Linked DNA regions of Homo sapiens: regions 1, 2, 4, 5, 6 and 7 are each linked to region 3. The links are contacts of gene promoters, found by promoter capture Hi-C in blood cells and fetal thymus (Javierre and others, 2016). All regions are on one chromosome and are shown on one strand. The core of a region is centred on a gene start or on the middle of the fragment in contact, and the rest is flanking DNA. Distances in the headings are between cores, read along the strand shown.

Evidence for each region. Contacts are between HindIII fragments. The CHiCAGO score rates a contact against its expected background, and 5 or more counts as called.
Region 1: a contact is called between a fragment that was not itself captured here and the fragment with the promoter of GAB1 in region 3, in 11 of 17 cell types (neutrophils, monocytes, naive B cells and 8 more). The highest score is 28.1, in neutrophils.
Region 2: a fragment that was not itself captured here is called in contact with the fragment with the promoter of GAB1 in region 3 in 1 of 17 cell types (neutrophils); the score reaches 6.1 in neutrophils.
Region 4: a contact is called between a fragment that was not itself captured here and the fragment with the promoter of GAB1 in region 3, in 1 of 17 cell types (neutrophils). The highest score is 8.3, in neutrophils.
Region 5: a contact is called between a fragment that was not itself captured here and the fragment with the promoter of GAB1 in region 3, in 1 of 17 cell types (neutrophils). The highest score is 6.5, in neutrophils.
Region 6: a fragment that was not itself captured here is called in contact with the fragment with the promoter of GAB1 in region 3 in 1 of 17 cell types (neutrophils); the score reaches 5.6 in neutrophils.
Region 7: a contact is called between a fragment that was not itself captured here and the fragment with the promoter of GAB1 in region 3, in 1 of 17 cell types (neutrophils). The highest score is 5.7, in neutrophils.

The regions. Positions count from the first base shown.
Region 1 is chr4:143,507,398-143,510,688 of GRCh38, reverse strand. No RefSeq gene overlaps it. Among named protein-coding and RNA genes, the nearest start is that of SMARCA5, 4.7 kb to the left of the region's middle. The HindIII fragment of the contact is 846 bases long and covers 1,415-2,260 here.
Region 2 is chr4:143,127,801-143,130,691 of GRCh38, reverse strand. All of the region lies in intron 1 of USP38-DT (USP38 divergent transcript), which reads left to right. Among named protein-coding and RNA genes, the nearest start is that of USP38-DT, 56 kb to the left of the region's middle. The HindIII fragment of the contact is 2,556 bases long and covers 334-2,889 here.
Region 3 is chr4:143,335,403-143,338,526 of GRCh38, reverse strand. GAB1 (GRB2 associated binding protein 1) reads right to left here and starts at 1,651. Exons shown (of 10, transcript NM_002039.4): 1 at 1,267-1,651. The coding sequence starts at 1,338. It also overlaps the pseudogene LOC124900789. RefSeq lists enhancers at 912-1,725, 2,635-2,844 and silencers at 1,755-1,804, 1,875-1,934, 2,035-2,334, 2,275-2,442. The HindIII fragment of the contact is 8,165 bases long and covers 1-3,124 here.
Region 4 is chr4:143,540,025-143,543,191 of GRCh38, reverse strand. It overlaps SMARCA5 (SNF2 related chromatin remodeling ATPase 5), which reads right to left. Exons shown (of 24, transcript NM_003601.4): 14 at 2,697-2,829. Among named protein-coding and RNA genes, the nearest start is that of SMARCA5-AS1, 27 kb to the right of the region's middle. The HindIII fragment of the contact is 2,050 bases long and covers 543-2,592 here.
Region 5 is chr4:143,557,695-143,561,001 of GRCh38, reverse strand. It overlaps the pseudogene GUSBP5. Among named protein-coding and RNA genes, the nearest start is that of SMARCA5-AS1, 45 kb to the right of the region's middle. RefSeq lists enhancers at 1,279-1,378, 1,509-1,618, 1,629-1,788. The HindIII fragment of the contact is 2,511 bases long and covers 547-3,057 here.
Region 6 is chr4:143,179,077-143,182,425 of GRCh38, reverse strand. All of the region lies in intron 1 of USP38-DT (USP38 divergent transcript), which reads left to right. Among named protein-coding and RNA genes, the nearest start is that of USP38-DT, 4.1 kb to the left of the region's middle. The HindIII fragment of the contact is 2,185 bases long and covers 424-2,608 here.
Region 7 is chr4:143,160,741-143,163,728 of GRCh38, reverse strand. The region is part of intron 1 of USP38-DT (USP38 divergent transcript); the gene reads left to right. Among named protein-coding and RNA genes, the nearest start is that of USP38-DT, 23 kb to the left of the region's middle. The HindIII fragment of the contact is 440 bases long and covers 1,281-1,720 here.

The DNA of each region.
Region 1 (3,291 bases), core at 588-3,087, 170 kb before region 3:
AAATTATAGAGAAAAGATGGAAACTAGCAAGAGGACACAGAATGCTCGAACTCAGTTATCTAGCATAAGTGACAGAGAAAAAGATTTTTGGCAGAGTTTAGAACCAGAAAGGAAAAGCAGAGAAGAGCTACAGAAAAGACATGAAGCCTAGAAACAGCTACAGGGACATTAGCTGTGTTCCTCAGGCAGATAGCAATACTAATATGGTGGCCAAATCACAAAATCCTGCTAAAAGGCTAAAACTAGCAGCTAGTTGTTGAATTGATCACATAATACAGAATTCATGTGTTGGTAAAAGAGTGGGTTGGGGAGCAGGCAAGCCTAGATTCCAGTGCAGGCTCTGGAACTTAGTAGCTGTGTGAATGCAGACAAGTTATCTAACCTCTTTGAAATCAATTTTCTCATCTTTTTATTATTATATTTTCCTAGCTTTATTTTGAGATAATATTATGATGTCATAAAAATTAAATGAGACAGTATAAGGTACATGATACAGTGCCTGACATATAGTGAGTTCTGGGTTCAAGTGTTAGTCTTATCCTTGAGAATCATAAGCCTAAGGTTTAGAGTCTAGTTGAAAGAAGAGGAACCAAAGAAGGAGGAGGGTAAGGGGTTTGGTAGCAAGAAAACACCAGAAAGGATTAGAGCTTTAGTCGTATTCCCAGCAACAGAATGCTACAGTGTAAAATAATGTTAGTGTTCTATCTCCAATATGTATATACATAGTTTACACCTAAAATTTCCTCTGTTAGATTTAATGTGCTAGAACAGCAAGTACAGTACAGAAATACAATGGAACAAAGAGATGTTGCCAGAGGACAAAAATGTGCCGAAGAGCCAGGGCTCTCTCAGCATTGTGTCCTTGAATGGTAACAGAAAGGAGTTAAAGTTTTCTCAAGGACAAAGAAGAAATGCAACACCTCTCTTCATTGCAACTCATTTTGTCAAAGCTTAAGAAAATAAAGTCTGATTACTGCAAGACAATAAAACTGTATTGAGTTTGTATCTAAGAATGGGTATTTCCAACACCAGATACCAATGATTACATGTTGTATGTATCTTTTTTAGAGTTCTCCCACATAGGTCATTTGTCAATGTACAGAGATTTCAGTTAAAGAGAAACATTAACTGTACTGTTAATAAACAGGTAAGGATATATTCCCTTCATTCCCCTCATATTTAGTCACCAACTAAATAGTGGGAGACTTTGTGTCTGCTCGGTATATATGCATATGTTTATGTAGTCAAAGTTTTTCAGGTTTTCTCTGCATTTCTTCCTGCTCATGAAAAAATAATTTCTTTTTTGTTGGGCTGGTTCTAGGTAAAGTATTTCTAGGAACTCAAATATTATGATCCAAAGTTAAATTTTAACCACCATCTTTGAAACATTTTTGAAATAATAAACTACAAAGCTTCAATTAAGAAATTAGAGTTTTTTTATTTAGTTTTTATCTCATTTATTAAAAGGAACTTCAGACAAAGGAAATTAGGCAGTCTTTTGCTCAAAATATTGAAAGTAAAAAGATGGAAAATATATATCATTAAAACAATAGCAAAAAGAAAACAGGAGTGGCTATATCATTATCAGATAAAGTAGACTTCAGAGCAAAGAAAATTATGAGACAAAGAGGGACATTATATAATGATGAAAGTGTCAACCCAGAAGACATAGCAATTTTAAATGTATATGTACCAAACAACAGAGCTGCAAAATATGTGAAGCAAAAGGTGACAGAACTGAAATTAGAAATAACAAATCCACAATTATATGTGGAGACTACAGCATCTCTCAACAACTGATACTACAACTAGGCAGAAAACCAGCAAGGGTATAGAAGAACTTAACAACAGCCAATAGGATCTAATTGACATTTATACAACACTGCACATATTTTTTTCTTCTACAAAAGTAGGACTATACACATTCTTTTCAAGAACCCACAGAAAATATAGCAAGATAGACCATAAACCTTAACAAATTTAAAAGATGTGAAATCATACAGAGTATGTTTTTTAACCACAATGGAGTCAAACCAGAAATCAGTAACAAAATGTTACCAGGGATATATTCAAACTAAATGACGTGCTTCTAAATAATCCATGGGTCAAAGAGAGGTCTCAAGAGAAATCAAAAAGTACATTGAACAGAATAAAAATACAATATATTAAAATTTGTGGAACACAGCTAAAACAGTGCTTAGAGGGAAATTATACACTAAATGCTTACATTCAGAAAAGAGAATAGTCTCAAATGTAAGCTTTCACCTCAAAAAACTAAAAAAAGCAGAGCAAGGATAAATCCAAAGTAAACAAAAGGAAGGAAATAATAAAGGTAAGAGCAGGAGTCAATAAAATTAAATACGGAAAATAAAAAGCAAAAACTGGTTCTTTGAAAAGATACGTAAAATTGGCAAACCTCTAGGAAGTCTGACAAGAAAGGAAGAAAGGAAAAAAAGAGAGGGTAAGAAGGAAGGAAGAAACAAAGCTCAAATCACTAATATCAGGAATAAAACAGGACCTATCATTGTAGACCTTGAAAACATCAAAAGGGTAGTAAGGAGTACGACACACATAAATTTGACAACTTAAAACCACTTCCTTGAAAAATTCAAGCCACTTAAACAGTATAAAAAGATCATATGAATAGCACTGTAACTATTTAGGAAATTAAATTGATAAATTAAAAACTCCCAAAGAAGAAATCTTCAGGCACAGATGGTTTCAATGAAAAATTCTACCAAATATTTAAAGATGAATTAATACCAATTCCATACTATCTCCTGCAGATAATAGAAGAGGATGATACACTTTGTAATTCATTTTATGAAGGTGCTTTATCTCTAATACCAAATCAGACAGACACTACATAAGAAAGAAAATGACAGACCAGTATCACTGATGAATACAGACAAATCCTTAACAAAATATTATCAGATACAATTAAACAATGTGTAAAAAGAATTATGCACCCTGATCAAATGTGATTTATTCCAGATATTCAACACTGATTCAATATTTGAGTATTAGTCAATGTTGTCTGCCATATCAACAGGCTAGAGAAGAAAACTCACATGATTATATTGACTGATGAGGAAAAAGCATTTGACAAAATTCCAACACCCATTTAGAACAAAACTCTCAGAAAAAAAAAAAAAAAGAGAAAACAAATAGAGTGGAACTTCCTCCTCTTAATACAGAGCATCAGCAAAATACCTACAGCAAACATTATACTTAGTGAGATTGAATCCTCTCCCTCTAAGATCTGAAACAGGGAAGGTTTTCTGCTTATAA
Region 2 (2,891 bases), core at 362-2,861, 210 kb after region 3:
TGAATAGCAAAGAAAAATATGCTACTAAGAGATAGTTTAATGAATAACTTTTAAAATTTCATTTTGGACAGGATTAAATTTCAGAAAACATTTGAACAAAAATTTTGACTCCTGGAATTGTATTTTTCATACTCAAGAAAAATTGGGTGTGTTCTTTGGTACTGTGTGGGAATATAAACCACACACATATCTTTGTACTGGCAGTGTGCTCTTGAGTGAGTTATTTAACATTGTTTTCTAATCTGTAACATGGGAAAATGATACCTTATAGTGTTAACATAAGTGTAATTCAAGTGGCCCCCAATAAAGCATTCATATAAAATCACTTAAGCTTTGTTATCTATGATGAGTGATCCAGTACTGTGTCCAGTATTCTAAGAAATTCCCACTGAGCTTTAAATTGTTTTAAAATACTTTTCCTGGACTCTTCAGAGGTGTTTCAGGGGTTCTGTGAACATGCAATTTGAATATCATTTTAAAGTTCAGTTCTTATTTATTGCACACAAATGCACATGTACTATTGTAAGGCTTAAAACACAAGCAGCAGTTCTGTCCTCCATCCTCCCTATCCCCAACCCTCTCCCAACCACTTTCAATTCTTTTTAGCTTGTTTCTTCTGTTATTTCTACTATATTTCTATATACTACCCTTTCTTGCTTTTTAAATTTTAAACTTCCTGTTGACTTCCTAATATGGAAGATGAGGCTACAGCTCTCTTGTCTCCATAGAAATACACATGGCCTTTCCCGCTATGCTTTCCATACACCTGAATCATAATTTTTGGTTCAATGAATAGTAATTGTATACATAGTTTTAAATATGTAAATATTGTTCATAGCTAAGCCATGTTTATATTTCCTTTTGTGTACAATTTTTGTTTTTCATGGAGTTAAAAATTGCTTCATTTTAAAATTTGCTTTGTTTTCTATATTCATTTTACTAATTCATCCCCCCCAAGTTTTCTACAGAATCCTGGAATTCTTCTCAGTGTAGTCAATACATTGATAGTTTGTCGGTTTTAATGAAGACATCCCTCTCAGAGCCTGTGCCGTTCTGCAGTTGGGATTGATGCGTCTCTAGGCCTGCAGGGACTTCCCTTCACCATCATATGGGAATCCTCTGTGACTCTACCCTGTGTGGATTCTTCTGTGCCCTGTTTTTCATGTCTTCCTCTTTCTTAGTTTATTCCCTTAATTTGGTGGAGCACGTTCTCCAGTAGCTACCTAAAAAATGGTGAATTGGAGGTAAATTGTTGAGACCTTGCATGTCATAAAATATCTTTTCTACTCTCATTCTTATATAATAGAGAGATTGGTTTCAGCATTAATGTAGAAAAAAATTTTCCCTTAGTGTTTTGAAGGAATTATTTTTTGTCTTTTCAGTTCAATATGTATAATTTCCCTCCACAATTTTTTTTCTGAATTAATAATGAACTTAGATTTAGCCACATGCTTTCAAGGAGTTTTGAGTCTATAGGGGAAGATTTGGAATTAAAAAACTAATATTTGATTTTTAACTTATGTCAGGCAATAGTACAATATATTACTGATTTAATTTTTCATGACATTTAATTTTGTAGTAAAGCAACTGGGGCTCAGAAAAGTTAGGCAATTTGCTTGTGATCACTCAGATAAGTAGAAATTTAAACACAAGTATAGTTGACACTAAAGCCCATGTTTTTCCTGTTCTATAAGGCTGCCTTGCAACTGTTTGGTTTAGTCGTGCTTTGGGGCATGAATTTTTGTTTCATATCTGCCTCTTTCTGGCAAATCATGAATTAATATGTATAAAGTGCTTAGAGAAGTATAGTAGGTGCTGTATAATGTTCGATGTGTAATTATTAAAATTGATTTGGCTAGTCCTTTCTTTGGGTTCTGCTCTTCCTCTTTCCCACCTTGTTTGCCTAGTTAACTTCTCAATTGTGAAGTTATCAGGTCCACTTTCACTTCTCCAGTGAAGCCATTCCAACTAGACAAAGCCTCATCCTGCCCTAAACTAGGTAAGTTTCTATCCACGTCTCACATTATAAATGTATGGGACTCAGTACCTTTTTTTCATATCACAGTTGGTACTTACATGTTTTTGTATTTGTTTCAAATTTGTTTTCCCCACTAAAGTCTAATCTCCATGTTTGTTTTCTTCACCTTTATACCCACAGAACCTAGCAAAGACTTGAAATATAGGTATTATGTAAATAATTGTTGAAATTTTGTTGAATAAATGAATACTGAGCACAGGAAAATCTAAATATATGTTTTCTGTCCTACTGCAGTAGTATATTTTACTAGAAAGTTAATTAAAAAACAAACAGCTGCTATCATCTTTTCAGCATTTCTTATGTACTGTAGCTCAGAGAAAACCATTCTCCCTATATGCTTGCCTCAGAGAAGGTGGAGGTTGCAATTCATTAGTGGGTTATGAAGTCAATTTAGTGAATTGTGATCAGCTTTAAAAATGATATAAAAGAGAAGAGAAAGTGTCAGAGTGCATCACATGTAGTAAGAGGTATTATTTCATGAAACATTTGTTTCAGATTATATTATATAAAATATATATGATTATGTAAAGAGGACCACATTATGAAGACTATTTTTTATTGTGGATATGGTCATAAAGTTTTGCCAAGCCAGTATTTCTAGAGCAGGGTTTGGCAAACCTTTTCTGTAAAGAACAACATAGTAAATATATTCCATTTTGTGGGCCATATGGTCTTTGTCACAAATGTTCAGCTCTGCCATTATAGTATGAAAGCAGCCATAGACAATAAGTAAACAAATGGACATGGTTATTTTCCCATACAACCATACAAAAACAGAAGGCTGGGAAGATTTGACCCAAAGGCTATATTTGCAGACCCCTTCCCTAGGGGGACAGGTTGGCAGGGAAGCTTT
Region 3 (3,124 bases), core at 402-2,901:
TCTATAATAAATTCTGGCAGAAAGTAAATCAGAAATTCACTGGTGAGTTGTCAGTGAAGTTAAATACTTCACTCTGTGTACTTCACTCTGTTCTATACAAGCAAACAGTGACTAACAGGATTAACCTGAGCTCTAATACTGGGTGTAGATATTCCTCAACGACAAACGGGTTCCCTTCGTACAGGCATTAAATTTATATTATATTTAAGGGGGCATAAATTTTGCTTTTGCAAACACATTTTACTAGAAAAATATTTGATCCAGATGTCAGCACAAAAGTGTCATTTCTTTCCTTTGCAAGGGAGCAGCAACAAAACAACCAATGGGGAGGAAGAATAAGATCCCAGACCTCTGAAGAGGACACAGGTTTCCACTAAAGCAAGGTTGATACTTTCAAGGAATATTTTTCCTAACAGCTAAAACGGTTTAACACATAGCATCTTGTATCAATTACACAAACACCATTAAAGCCACTCTGGTTCCCTGGGAAAGGACCGCAACTGAAATCCCTTCTGGCTTCAGCTGTCCCCTCCTGCCGAGTTTGACAGCACATCCAAGGCGCCCAAACACCAGCCACTAGGCTCCCCCCCAGCGCCCTCCTCTCGCAGCAAACCGCCAAGGCTCCCGGGCCAAACTCCAAAGTCCCTCAATTCAAAACCGCGAAAATGTGAACCCTGCTAAGCAAACGGCAGGGCGCGTAATAACTTTTCTTTCTTTCCCTTTTGCGCGCGTTCGATATGCTTGTCTCTACTACCAACTCCTCAGCTCCACAGCCCGCTTCCCGCAACCCATCTCGAGGGGCGGAGGAGAGGGAGCGCCCACCAAAGAAAGGGCTAGTGAGCCCTAAAACCTCGGCAGTTTTCCCGGTGCGGGAGCTTTAGCACACATCAGCCCAATAATCAGATGCAGGAATAAAGCAGGAAGAAGGCTCCTCTCTCCATCGCACCCCATCCTTCCTAAGGAAGAAAAAAAGCATGCAGCAGGAGTTTAGCTGGACGTCTAGGTCCTTTTATGGGGCGAACAGGCCCGCAAAGCAGGCTGTCTGGAACCTGGAGGAAGAAAGTTGTCCGGCCAAGTGGATGCCTGGGCGTGAGGGAGTGCAAGGCACCCTGTCCCGAGCCCGCCAGGGGTAGGGGCCAAGGGGAAAGAGACCGGCATTCGTTTAAGAACCAGCCCCGCGCGCGGCCAGCTGCAGCCGCCGGCGAGCCGACTGGGGAGGGGTGTGGACGCCGAGGCCCGCGGAGTGGTGCCCGCAGCTCTACTTACATAACGCTTCAACTTTTTCTCCGGGGGGGACTTGCGGAGCCATCCGGAGCAGACCACTTCACCACCGCTCATGGTGCGCGCGTCTCGGGCTCCGGGCCGGGCAGCTGAGGGGCGGCGGGCGCGCTCCCGACACAGCCGACGCCTGCCGAGCGCGCAGTGGCGAGAACCTAGCTCTCCTGGTCGCGCACCCCGGACGGACTGGGCGGACAGACTCCACGGTGCGCGGGTTCCACGAGTTCGAGTCTCTCCTCTGCAGGCCCACGAACCTGAACAGAACGCGAGCCGGGGCCGCGGGCGCGCCGGCCTCCTTTCAGTGCGCCCGCCTCGCCTCCAGACGTGCCGTCTCGCCAGCTGCCTCAGCAGCGCTCGGACTCAGCGGGACTCTGCCCCGACTCGGTGCCGGAGCTTCTGTCCTTTGCGCTCCGCCCCCTAGGGACAAGACCTCCCCAGAGCGCTTTCCGAAACAGACACAGCGCTGCTCACACACACACACACACACACACACACACACAATGCCCCGCGCGGTGCCCGCTCGCCCGCCCACCCGCCCTCGGTTTCGATGCGCCCGGAGCGATCCTCCTTCCCTCTCCTCGGGGGAGGGTGGGTCACTTCGCGGCGCTCGGTGAACGCCGAGGAAAGGGGAAGCCGCGAGCCGCCTACGGGCAGCGGGCGCGGGGCTGGTCCCGGGTCACAGAGGGAGCCGCAGGGTTGGCAGCGAAGCGCGGGGCGTTTCTGAGCGGCGGGCGCAGGGAGGTCGCAGGTCAAGCCGGAGGGTGGGTCCGCTCTCGCGGCCGCCGAAGAGGGCGGGGAGCAGCAGAGGAACGAGGCGCTTGGCGGCTTGGCTCCTGGGAGGGATCCCGCTGTCCCGTCCCCTCGCGCTCCTCCCCCGCCGCCTCCCCCACCCCGGGGCTCGCGGCAGGTCCTGAGCGGCTCGGCCCCAGATCCCGATCCCTCCCTCCCTCTCCCGGCCGCCGGGCTCCTTCTTCCTCCCTCTCCTCCTCCCCTTCCCACGTTCAGGCCCGGCTCCGGTTTCTGCCCAGACTTTCTCTGAAACTCCGCCGGAGTGCTTCCAGCCAAAACAACAAGGGCCGGGGGAGGAGACGGACGAAGGGAGGGAGCAAGGGAGGGAGGGAGCGCGAGTCCGAGAGGCACCCTGGGATCTGTAGTTCGGGAAGCAGGAGCAGGGTCCTCCGCCGTCCGGCGGCCCCCAATCGGCTCCTCGCCCGGGAAGACCGCAGAGGCCTCGGCTAGGGCAGAGGCACCGGGGCTTGGGCGCGGGGAAGACTGAGGGACATTCGAATGTTCAGTCCGGGGCTTGCCATCTTGACTCAGCCCGGTGCCAGCTCGGAGCTTGTGCTGTGCTCGAGATCAGGAGTTTCGAGGGTTTTCTTTACTTGAGAGCCTGAAAGGCAAAACCGCGGGGAGACCACCATCCTGCCGGTCCCCGCCGCGCGAGATTAAAGGACAGACCAAGAGGGCGCGGGAGCTACCAGCTTGGAGGGGAGGACAGATGGGGACCCAGGGCTGGCCAGGGCTGGTCTCTGGAGCTGTTCTGCCAGAGTGATGGGGGCGCTTGGCGAGGCCAAGGATTTGGTTGGGTCCTATCTCTGAGACATTTTGAAGTCTCACACCCCTTCCATTTGTTGCCTATTCCACTTAACTTTGTATTTGTTTGAAATCTACTGTTCGGATGCTGGACTAGAAGAGGGACACTTGGCCGGGCGCGGTGGCTCACGCCTGTAATCCCAGCACTTTGGGAGGCCGAGGCGGGCGGATCAACTGAGGTCGGGAGTTCAAGACCAGCCTGACCAACATGGAGAAACCCAATCTCTACTAAAAATACAAAAATTAGCCGGGC
Region 4 (3,167 bases), core at 318-2,817, 200 kb before region 3:
GAAGCATTATACACACAAGTTTCTGATGAGCAGAAAGGTGTTATTAACTAATACTCCCCAAATCAGCTTTTCTCCTTAGAAAAGTAAAGTAAAAAATCCTTCACCTAGGCCAAACTTTACACAGAACTGAAATATGTAACATCAGTTTCTTTTTAAAGAAAACTTCCAGAAGAACTGAAACTCCTAAAAACTTATTTTATTCGTTTATTTTTTTGAGATGGAGTCTTGCTCTGTTGCTTAGGCTGGAGTGCAATGACAGGACCATAGTCACTGCAGCCTTCAACTCCCTGCTCAAGCCATTCTCCTGTCTCAGCTTCCCAAGTAGCTAGGACTAAAGGCATGCACTACCACACCTGGTGAGAAAATGTATCTGGATCATCGAAGAAACTCACCATTAATAAATTAATAAATATTTTCAGTTGGCAGGAGTTTGGACAACCTTGTAATTTTTCAAAAATACAGGTATAAAAAAACAAACAAAAACCCAGAAAGACTTGTTTTCACCCTCCTCAAGGGTCACTCACATACACCTAAACAAAGCTTTGATTTTTATATGCCAACCAACTTGTAAGTAAGTGGAAAAAGATCCAAGTTTTCAACAACTTCTTTAAATACTTGTATCATGGTTTGGGACCCATAATAGGATATACAGCCAAACATCCATGACTTTGTAAGTGAGGAGATATCCACAAGGTATGTTTCCTTGGATTGGATGCTACCATTGCTACCAAAATGTTCTTATGCTTATACAAACTACTTCCAAGTTGGGCAGGAAGGTTCCGGAACCTTCAGATGTAAAGTGCTTGTGTACTCTCGTTTTTAATTATGTCCCTCAAATAAAAAACAGTAACACAAAGGTATGCACTTAAGGCTTGCTGTTTGACTAACATGTCTACAAACGGCACAAGAAAGCTATTAGCCTGAAGGTTTGCTCCAAAAATTGCCACAGTAAATATGAAGTAAAAAAACCTCAAGATTTCTAAATTAATTATGAATCAATTAAGGTCTTTTTTATCTTTAAAAAAAGTGTTTTGGACAGGCGTGGTGGCTCATACCTGTAATCCAGCACTTTGGGAGGCTGAGGTGGGTGGATCGCCTGAGGTCAGGAGTTCAAGACCAGCCTGGCCAACAAAGTGAAACCCTGTCTCTACTAAAAATACAAAAAAATTAGCCAGGTGTGGTGGCGGGCATCTGTAAATCCAGCTACTCAGGAGGCTGAGGCAGCAGAATTGCTTGAACCCAGGAAGCGGAGGTTGCAGTGAGCCGAGATCGTGCCATTGCACTCCAGCCTGAGTAACAAGAACAAAACTCCATCTCAAAAAAAAAAAAAGTGTTTCATGGATGAAAATAACTGAGAACAAGAAACACACGGCAGGTGTATTTCAAAACACATGGATGTGTGAAGAAAAATAAAACATTAGCCATTATATCACCCATGAGATAACATCACGGGGTGGCAGCCTCGAGAAGTCCCCAGAGACTTTTCTAATTAAACACTTAAGAGTTAACAAAGTTCTTGATCCCCCTTGAGTCACTTCCCAGCTGTATGTACAATGAACAAGTAATTTAACCTCTCAAAAGCCTTTATCTCTGATGCTAACATCTCAAGTTGGCATGAAGACTAAAGGAGAAAATGAAATGTTAAGTATATAGCACACTGCCTGGCACAAAGTAAACACTTTATTAAGGGAAACGATTTGTAAAAATAAGCAATAATTTATTGTCTTCAGGTATGCAGACATATGGCTAACACTATGAATAGCATTAGGGATACCAAAGACATGTACAATACTCTCTTACATGGACATCAGAGACTGACAAAATCAAGATACCTACATAATCAGTAAACAATGTAACAGTATGCCTTTCAGCTTTATAGACAGATAGTAAATACATGCTCACAAATGCAGTTACAAAGGAAACCAATGCACACTTGAAATTATTAAGTTTCCCACCCCTTTTCTTGAATTTTATATTTCCCATCATCAACTTTATAGTAGGCTTCATGAAAACATAAATTATGTCATCCTTAAAAGCTGATCTGGAATGAGAACTTAAGTTTCCTTCAATTGATCCAAAATAAAATCCCACTCTCACCCCCTACTCCTACTTATACCCTTGTTTACTTCATCTCTCCCTCCCAACTAAATTGTAAACTCTTTGAAAGTAAGAATACTTGTTTGTTCCATTTACCACTGAATTCTCAGCACCAAGAACGGTGCCTAGCATCTGGTGGGTACTCAGTAAATTGCAGACAAGAAAAAAGAATAAAATCAGGCTCTTTGATTTTTATTTCTTCAGTTTTCCCCACAGTAATCAAGAGTAGTTAGTACATATAAATCATTAACCACCACACTGAATGTCAGATATTTTATATACATTATCCCCTTTAATCCTTTAAAATCCTTAAGTGTAGTTATTTTTATCCCCACTTAACAGATGAGGAAATGGGTTCATGTAACCAGAGAGAACTGCTAACTGGCAGACTCATTATTCAAACCTCAACTGTCCTGAGCCCAAATCCATCTTTTTAATGACAAAACTAAAGTTTACTGTATTTGCAATACAAGTCATCTCTACTGGCTGCAAGCTTGACTCAATGGATGCTTAGTAACAAGAATCTTCTAAGACGATTTTCAAACAAAAACAGGTTGTGTCAATCCAACTTGGTAAAGTTTTAAAGTTCCATGGCTTACCTTGTTGAATGACTATTGAATCCAGTCTGAGTTTCATCTCAGCACGTTCTACTATTCTTTCTTCTACAGTGTTATCAGTTATAAAGCGGAACACTCTGACTGTCTTAGTCTGCCCAATTCTATGTGCTCGGTCCTAAATAAATTACCATGTTATTTTGAATTTAGTTTAAAAGTCACATAAATAACACTGAAATGGGTACACTGAGAAAAAAAATTAAAATATTCTGAAATATAAAACTTTTAAAAATTTGTAATAACACTGCATCTGTAAGGAATCAGATGAATTCTGCTAGGTTACACTGAGATAAAACACATAATGTCTCCAAACAATATACAACATTATAATTTTTAAGTCTGATGAGGAAAGATTTTAAGTCTTTTTTCCTAGGTTTAAATTCAAAATGTTTTTCTATCTAAATCAAACCCAAATTGTCACTGCTATCAGGCAAAGAAGTGACATGAAACAACTTA
Region 5 (3,307 bases), core at 553-3,052, 220 kb before region 3:
CTTGTTTAAGTGGCATAGGCTTAGGATTGTTATTTTTCTTTAGCATACACATAAACAGGGGCCAAAATTGAACTCAACTGCTGTATATTGGCTACATCAAATATTGCAGTAAGAATCTGGACTTTGGGGTTTGAATGGACAAATCTATATTATAATTTTCCTCTGATATTTTACAAATAAACTTTTCCATCAAGGAGTCTACACACACTGGTTCTACATTTTCTTTACCATCAGATCCTGTTTTGAACACTACCATGCCACTGAAGAAAACTGTTCTCTCCAAGGTCAATCTGCACTGACCTGTATCAGTCATTAAATCCAATGCCTCCTTCCAAATTTTCCACAGCAGCTTTCAAAACCTGTGACATTCTGGGTCTCCTCCCATAACTGACTCCCACTTTACAGGCAGTAAAATGTAGAAGACAATGCATGGACAATAAAGTTATACCATTCTGGATCAAGCAAATCTGTTCCAGTTTTGAATTCTCACTCAACCACCTATTGGCTACACAACTTTAAACTAGTGGGTTCACAAACCCCTAAGCTTTACTTTCCTAACCTATATAATGGAAGCAATCATATCCACCAAATGTTGTGGTTATGAAAACTAAATAATAATATTGTCTTTTGGCACACGGTTAGACATTAAATGAATGTAAGTTTTCATCTTTCTTTTGTATCCTCTATCACTTCCTTGACTATTTTGTCTTCTTTCAACAAAGTCTCTCCTGTTATTTTCATTTATTCCATTAACTATCAGTTTTTGAAGGGCTCATGTAAATATTCAGCTCCACACTTATTGAAAATTTCTTAATTACTTACAAAATTTGTAAGTCACTGATATGTGACTTACCTAATGTAATTACCCTAATGTAATGCCCCACGGGGTGGGACAGGAAGGTGGGTGTCTGCGGTGGAAGCAGGATGGTACCCACGTGGAGGTGTCGGCCATGTCGAGGATGCTCCCTGGTGGCAGGGTGGAGGAGATGAGCATGTTGCCGATGGTGATAGTGATGCGGAGGCGGGAGGGCAGGGGCCCCACCTGGAACAGGCTACTGATGTCGGTGTCAAAGGGGAGGTAGATCCCTCATGCTCTAGCGCGTCGACCCCATTCACCCACACGATGGCATAGGAGTGGGCACTGACAATCCTCAGTACCACTCTTGTGTGCAGGTCCTGGGTCCATTGCTCCAGGAAGGTCACCTCCCGTTCGTACCACATCTGGTCTACAAAATGCCGCAGCCGCCAGTCCTGGCCAACGTCGTTGAAGCTGGAGGGAACCGGTATGTCCATGGTGGAGCCCGACTCTCGCAGCAGACGCCGATACCACTACTCCTAGAAGCCAAGGCACAGTTTGTCGAAGAAGTCGGCGCGGAAGCTCCAGAGGCGGTCCAGCTTCTTCCGCTCCCGCGACGGCCTCTCTCTTGGGTACAGCATCCCGCCCTGCAGCGCCAGCGCGCAGCCCCACAACAACGGCCCGAGCGCCTACCAGGCGTCCGCCGCCCCCCGGACCATGCTTTCCGCTCCTCTGCTGGGCCGCCGTCTGCGGGCCTATCAGCAGCGCGGGAGGAGCCCTGCGGACTGGTCGCGCGCGACGTGACGCGCCAGTCGCGCAGAGGGAAAGTATTTTTTTAAAACCAAGAGATTTGAACTGACGAACAATTACAAATACCCAAAGTGATGATTTGTCCCCCTGTGTTTAAAAGTCTTGGTGCTAGACAATCAAGGATGTTTCCAACATGTACGTAGAAGACTCTGACCTTCTAGCACCACTGTTCGGGTGTTAAACCCGGCCTAGTCCTACGTGACTGCCTGCGCCTTTCTGTATTCTAGTCTTTCACTCCCAGCTGCAGCTGGTAGCCGGCAGCGTTTGACCTGCAGTGGGCAGCTCACCTTTGTTCCTAACACTGCCATCTCGCGGATGGGGTCTGCAGCCGCCAATCAGAGCGTCAAGGTGAGCCTGGGGAGACCTCTACAGGTGCCTGTGGTTTCATTGTAACTACCTAAACTATTCATTCTCTTATCAAGCACCCACCCAGTTCCAGTACTGTCCAGTTACAATAAGGAGCCCAATGATAATTTTTTTTAAAGATTAGTTCCTGCTGTGAAGAAACTAAACTCAGCGTACTCTTGAAGGAGCTCCCTCTAACTTATCTTACGACTATTAAGGGTGAGAAAAAAGCACTGTGGCGTCTGCAGCATTTAGATTGGTAGGAGTATTCTGCAAGACTTGTGCCATTACTTTTATCAAGTTGGCTCCCAGGGAAAGAGGTGGCTGGGGAGGAGGGGGAGCGCAAAAAATAGGAGGCTGGGGGAAAGCCAATACCCAGAGAAAAGACCTTTCTACAACTGGAAAGCATACTAAGAAAGCAAACCTATCCATCTACTGGGATTAAAGGGCATATAAAATGAAAAAAAAAAAAGTTACTCCTTGCAAAGCTAGGATGACCAGATGGCCCCTTGCCACCTCCCAGAAGGGAATCTGAAAGTCAGCTAATCACCAGCCTGTTTGTGAGGAAGAGCCAGTAAGAACTCCGCCTTTGCACAGCAAATCTGTATCATCTATTCTTCTTTTTCCCTCCACTCAGGATCCCTACACCCAGCCAGCATGGGCATCAAGGAAAGCAGGCTGGTAAACTTCAGGGCAGAGATCCGCTTCTGAAGGCAGCTAGTAATGTCTCACCCAGCTAAGCCTTGCTACTAGGCAACAGCACTGCCTCACTCAAGAAATTATCAATCTGCATCAGGCCAGATGCAGTGGCTCACACCTGTAATCTCAACATTTGGGAGGCGGAGGCAGGCAGATCATTTGAGGCCAGGAGTTCGAGACCAGCCTGGCCAATATGGTGAAACCCTGTCTCTACTAAAAATACAGTAATTAGCCAGGTGTGGTGCATGCCTGTAGTCCCAGCTATCCGGAAGGCTGAGCCAGGAGAATTGCTTGAACCTGGGTGGCAGAGGTTGCAGTGAGCCTAGATCGCACCACTGCACTCCAACCTGGGTGACAGAGCAAGACTCTGTCTCAAAAGTCACTAGTGTGCATGAGACACAGAAGCTTTGACAAAAATTCAAACAGCCATGGAGAAATACCGATGGTCTACAGAAGCAGTGCTTAGTCCTTGCTAGAATTCTCTAGTTTTGAAACATGGGAATAAGTAGAACTGCCAATGTGTCTGATGAGTAACTGTGGTATTTATTGCAACTGAGCTCTAGAAAGAGGCTACTGTTGTCTATGATCTGTCCTTTCCCCAACCACCCAGGCATCTCTTTGTCCACTCCAGTGATGTCTGCAGACCACCCTAATGTC
Region 6 (3,349 bases), core at 267-2,766, 160 kb after region 3:
ACAAATAATCCCTGACTTTATGAAATTTATATTCATATGTTTTTTAAGTTGTAAAGAAAAAAAGACTGTAAAGAAACACACCAACCACTTTGATATGGTTTTTGTTTTAATGACTTAAAATGGACATCAAGCTAATCTTACGACACTATTTCATTTAATTTTTTTCACAGTGCAAAGTGAAAGCAAGTTTATTAAGAAAGTAAAGGAATAAAAGACAATTAAAAATTAAAAATATACCATTGGCTACTTCATAGGCAGAGCAGCCTCACTACCCTATTTTAAATCTTCCAGTGCTTCTCCTCTTAAAATTCAAATGGCTACTGTTGACTTTAAGGCCCTCCATCAAGTTGCTCTTGTGTCTTTTCCTACTGTTCTCATTTATTATATGTTTACAGCCTTTTTCTGTTCTCTAGAATCTAAGCTTCATGAGGTCAAAAAGAACCCCTTAATTTTATTAGTTACTTCTATATCTAGCAGTTAGAACACTAGGGTAAACAATCTATCAATTTTTTTTGTCTGTGAGATGAAGTCTCTCACTCTGTTGCCCAGGCTGGAGTGCAGTGGTGTGATCTCAGCTCACTGCAGTCTCAGCTCACTGCAATCTCCACTTCCTGGGTTCAAGCAATTCTTCTTCCTCAGCCTCCTGAGTAGCTGGGATTATAGGCACCCACCACCACACCTGGCTAATTTTTGTATTTTTAGTAGAGATGGGGTTTCACCATGTTGGCCAGGCTGGTCTTGAACTCCTGACACAAATGATCCTCCCATCTCAGCATCCCAAGGTGCTGGGATTACGTGAGCCACCATGCCCAGTTCAATCTAACTATTTTTTGAATGAATGAACTTTTAAAAAATGAAATGAAAAACATGGTTTAGAAAAAGTCGTAAGGAGTCTACACAGTAATTTCTAGAACTAAAAAACAAACTCAGCAGGGTTTCAGAATATAAGATAATAGACAAAAATCAGTTGTACTTTTATGTACTAGCAATGAACACATGGAAACCAAAATTAAAAATATACCATTGATAATTGCTCAAAATAAAAACTATGTAGGTGTAAATCTGACAGTGGATGTACAGGACTCATGCTGAAAACAACAAAACACTGATGAAAGAAATCGAAGATCTAAATAAATGACCATATACATGGATTGGAGGACTCACCATAGTGTAGATGTTAATGATCTCTAAATCGATATGCAGGTTTAATACAATTCCTATTAAAACTCCAGGCAGGTTTTTTTTTTCTTCTTCATATACAGGCAAGATTATTCTAAAATGTATTTGGAAAAACAAATCAGAGTAGCTTCAACAATTCTGAAAAGGAGGAATTAAGTGAGAGGGATCATTTTACCTGTGTTTGTTCTTATGCTGCTAATAAAGACGTATCTGAGACTGGGTAATTTATAAAGGAAAGGTTTATAAACACAGTTCAGCATGGCTGGGGAGGCCTCAGGAAACTTAAAATCATGGTGGAAGGGGAAGCAAACATATCCTTTCACATGGCAGCAGGAAGGAGAAGAACGAGAGCTGAGCTAAGGGGGAACCCTGTTATAAAATCATCAGATCTCGTGAGAACTTATATCACGAGAACAGGAAGGGGGAACCTGCCCCCATGATTCAATTATATCCACCTGTTTCTTCCTTCAACACGTGGGGATTATGGGCATTGCAATTCAAGATAAGATTTGGGTAGGGACAGAGCCAAACCATATCACTACCCAAAAATAATACTCATTGTATGCCAGGGTAATTAAGACAGTATGGTAATGGCAGAGAGACACATAGATCAGTGAAATGGGCAACAATAACCTAGACCCACACAAATACACCAAACTGATTTTTGACAGAGATTCAAAAGCCATTCAGTGAAGGAAGGATGGTGTTTTCAACAAATGGTGCTGGAGTAACTGGATGTTCATAGGCAAAAAAGAAATGAGAAAATTCTATAACTGGGAGAAAACAACAGTACCACTGGACTGTACTGCTACAGGGTTTCACAGAAGCCCCAAACTTATTTGGTCAAATCTTAGTCCTGGAGGAATTCCAACCTTCCAGGGGAACCCAGTTGTTACAATATGTAGATGAACTTTTAATATCTGGCAAAAGGAAGGCCGAGTGATCAGAAACCACCATAATCTTGCCTTATTTTCTTTGAGAAAGGGGATTGCGAGTCTCTAAGAACAAATTGCAGTTTGTAGAAAAAGAAGTTAAATATTTAGGACACCTGATTGGTGAAGGGAAGTGGATAATAAACTCAGAATATTGGGAATAGTGGGTTTGCCTTTGCCTAAGACAAAGAGAAAACTCCAAAAATTTTTAGGTTTAACTGGCTACAGTAGGTTATGGATTGACTCATATGCTTAAAAGACAAAATTCTGTATCTCAAGTTACTAGAAGAGGAGCCCAATCCCTTGTAATGGTCCCTAGATGAAATTAAGGCAGTGAAAGAGCTAAAGCAGGCCCTCATTACAGTCCTGGTCCTGGCCCTCCCATCTTTAGAGAAACCATTCTATCTGTTTGTAACAGTAGACCGGGGCATGGCCCTTGGGGTGCTCACTCAAACCTGGGGAGGGAAGAGGCAACCTGTTGCTTTTGTCTCCAAGCTTCTCGATCCTGTCTCTCAGGGGTGATCTGAATGTGTGCAAGCAGTAGCTGCGACAGCCCTGCTGGTAGAGGAGAGTCGAAAGCTAATGTTTGGTGGGGCCCTAATAGTAAACACCCCACACCAGGTCAGGAATATATTAAATCAGAAAGCTGGGAGATGGTTAGTGGATTCTCAGATTCTAAAATATGAAGCCATATTACTAGAAAAAGATTATTTGGTTGTAACACCAGATACTTGCCTGAATCCAGCCAGTGTCCTATGGAAAGGAGACCAGAACAAAGAGACATCAGATCATAACTGCTTAGATACCATAGAATACCAAGCCAAAGTTAGACCAGACCTTAGGGAAGCTCCACTACGTGATGGATTAGACTGTTTGTGGATGGGTCATCCGGAGTGATAGATGGCAAGGGACTTAATGGTTATGCTGTCTTTGATGGAAATAAACACTCATTATGTGAGAAAGGTAGATTACCTAATGGCTGGTCGGCCCAAAAATGTGAATTACATGCTCTTGACCAGGCCCTAAAGCTCCTTGAAGGCCAGGAAGGAAATATATATACTGATTCTAAATGTGCCTATGGGGTGGTACACACTTTTGGAAAAATCTGGACAGAGCGGGGCCTAATAAATAGCAAGGGAAAAGAATTGGTACACGGGGAACTGGTCAAACAGGTTTTAGAAAGTCTCCTGCTTCCAGCAGAGGTAGCCATAGTTCATGTAAATGATCATCAGAACGGG
Region 7 (2,988 bases), core at 251-2,750, 170 kb after region 3:
ATCAGTTGAGAATGAGACTGACAGAGGAAGAGATGGAGATTTTAAGAGAGAGGTGAAGTGATGTAATAGTTGTTTAGAACACTGGAAATAAGTATAATTCCTAGCCAGCATTAAGGGCCTGTTTGAAGTTAGTGATACCAGTCAATTTGTTCATTTTGTTTTCCTCCAGCTGCGTTCACATGTACAGGTGTACAGGTGTAAGCATGGAATAGGTAGAGAGTTGGACAGAACCAGGGTGGTGTCTTAGCCAAGTACAAGGAAGCAAGCTAAGGGCAGGAAAGTTAGGCTGTATGCAAGGGAGGGATTATGATGGACCACGGAATTTAAGCTGAATAAAAATGAAGTGAGTAAATAATATAAGGGGCGAAGGACAATAAAAAGATGTTAGGATCAATGAATTACAGGTTCTGGTAGGTCAGAGGGTTGTTGGAATTCTCCAAATTCCAACTAGAGGGAGTGAGCTGGAAAGATAGGAGTTGGTGCTCAGAAAACCGAATGTTTTAAATTGAAATGATAGAGGGGCTGTAGTTATTGGGAATGACATTTAGTTATGACCATGAGAGTAAGTGGCTGGAAGAGGGGGGAGGGCAAAACCATTAAAGGAGATCAAGTCAAAGAACTGTGTGACAATATACTGGAAAGGTAATTTATGTGGACATTGAAGTCAGCCGAGAATTATGACAGGAATAAGGTTTGTGACAGTATCAGTGAGTCAGGAGCTACAATCTTGAGGATATGAGGTAGAAGGAGAGTGACTTGGAGGTTGTTTGAGCACTGCATCAGGGAAAGGTTGATAGCGCTATAGTTTGATTTAATAAAATCTAAATGAAGGAGGGAGGCGGAATAGTCTGGAAGGAGTAACAAGTAATAAGAATGTCACCTTCTTAATCTCTAGACCCAATAGCAGTAGAGTTTGAGGGAAAGAACATCTACCTTTTGAGTAAGCTGCAGACAAGAGGGCTACAGGGTTGATCAAGTAAAAATTAAGTGAATGTTGAGGTGATTTTGCTGGTGACTGTCTGAGTCTTAGCATAGTGGAAAGATTTCAGGAGTTGGGCAGAGATAAGAAATGGAGTTAAATAAGGGGATGTTCAGAACCTTTTGGGAATTAGAGTCCTGAGGATGAGTTGATTTTGACTTTTTGTGGCAACTAGAATCAACAGGCATAAAGGGCATAATAAACTTAATCTTGATGAAAGTCTTTAATAAAAGCTTTAAATTCACAATTGAAGCTATAATGAAACAAACGTGCAACCTCAATGCAGATTCAAGGACAAGCTTGGTTTTAGATTAGTCATGAGTGAAATGCCTGTTGGCAAAATGTCTGCCTTGTGAAGGCCTTGTGACTGAATTGTGAAATTATTAGTGCTAATTACAGAATTTCTCTATTACAAAGGGGCCCAAGAGAAGAGAGTGGTGGGATTGGTGGAAAAGCTAAAAATTGGATTCTGTTTGTTTATTGGTTTGTTTGAGATAAAAAGATAATGAGACTTGTTTTAAAGACTTGTAATAGAAACTTCGAATATAATCTACAAGTACATTGTTGCAAAGCTAAAGAAAGTGTGTCCTCTTTTAGTGGAACTTATAGGCAATGGCAGTACTATTTTTTTGTCTAGTCAAAAAATTCTTCTGTCTTAATATATCTCATAATTAGGTTTCATATTATGCTATTGATCAAGTCATCTGGAGGTGATAGATCGCAAGGATAAATTATTAAGCTTGGCTTACTGAAGATGCATATTTTAGTTATTTAAGTGATTCATTTGCTCTACTCCAAGTTTTTTTGATACTTACCAATGATATGTCTCACAGTAGCTTTAACTTCCTATAGATTATTATAAGATTAATAAAAGACCTTAGAAAAAGAACAGAGTTTCAACTAATCAGTAGTTAAAGGCCACAGGCATTATCTAATTTGGTTAGATTTTTATAGTTAGATTACGGGTCAACCCTACATTTCAACTCTCCTACTTCAGTTCCCAGACTCTTCAAATTTTGTTAAGAATAAGTCTAAACCAGACTAAGTGGTTACACTGTTAATTCATGCTATCCAATCTCAGCTGTGCCCTCAGTGCTGTTAACAAAGTTTTATATTTATCTCTAAATATTTCCTATTTCCCCAGTGCCTAAGCATGCCATACCTGCCTCTCTTTCTTTATAACAGCCTTCATTCTTACTGCATTGGAAAGATTGAGGATTGTTAACAACAACTTTCTTAATTTGTCTCCTCTTCAATAGAAAAAAAAGGTTTTGTATAATGTTTTTCTTCCTTTTCTTAATCCTGATGCTTTTTTACCTTCCATCCCTCCCCACCTTCTGTGATATGTTGCTTCATCAGTCATATCCTTGTATCAACAGTCTCTCTCTACCATTCTGGCTTTCCCTCAACAGACAGACATCTTCCTTTCCTCAAACTTGAATTCATCTTATCTATTTGCCCTTTAGGAGCTCACCGTATTTTAACAACAATTTATATAGTGACACGTACCTTATACCATTTAAATAGCATGAAAAATAATGTTTACTTGCCTCTGATAGCCCAGGAGTCATGCCTTAGTGAGCCTCGGTGAAAATTTTTAATGCAATTTGTGTTATTGTTGGAGGCATTTTTTTGAAACAAATCAGTAAAATTATTAAATGTTAGAAACAGATCATGTGAGCTATGCTATTTACCTCATGCTGTTTATTGTGGGCCGTGGGATGTTTATTACAGAGTCAGGCAGGGTTTGTCTGTTCTGGGATTTTATTTTACCATGCCCACAAGCTAAAAAGTTAGCCTGTTACTGTTTCATCCATGCTGATGGAAGACATGTGTTTCCTGGGTCAGAGAGGAAGTACATTATTACTTATTACAGTAAGAAGCAGGAGCATCAGTATGTTTGTATTGGTTCACCTTGTTTCTCATTCTCATGTGGGCGACACAGAGGACCAGCTGGAAGCCATGCAGTAAGTCGTGTTACAAGACAGCAACACTGAACTTGGGGTTCC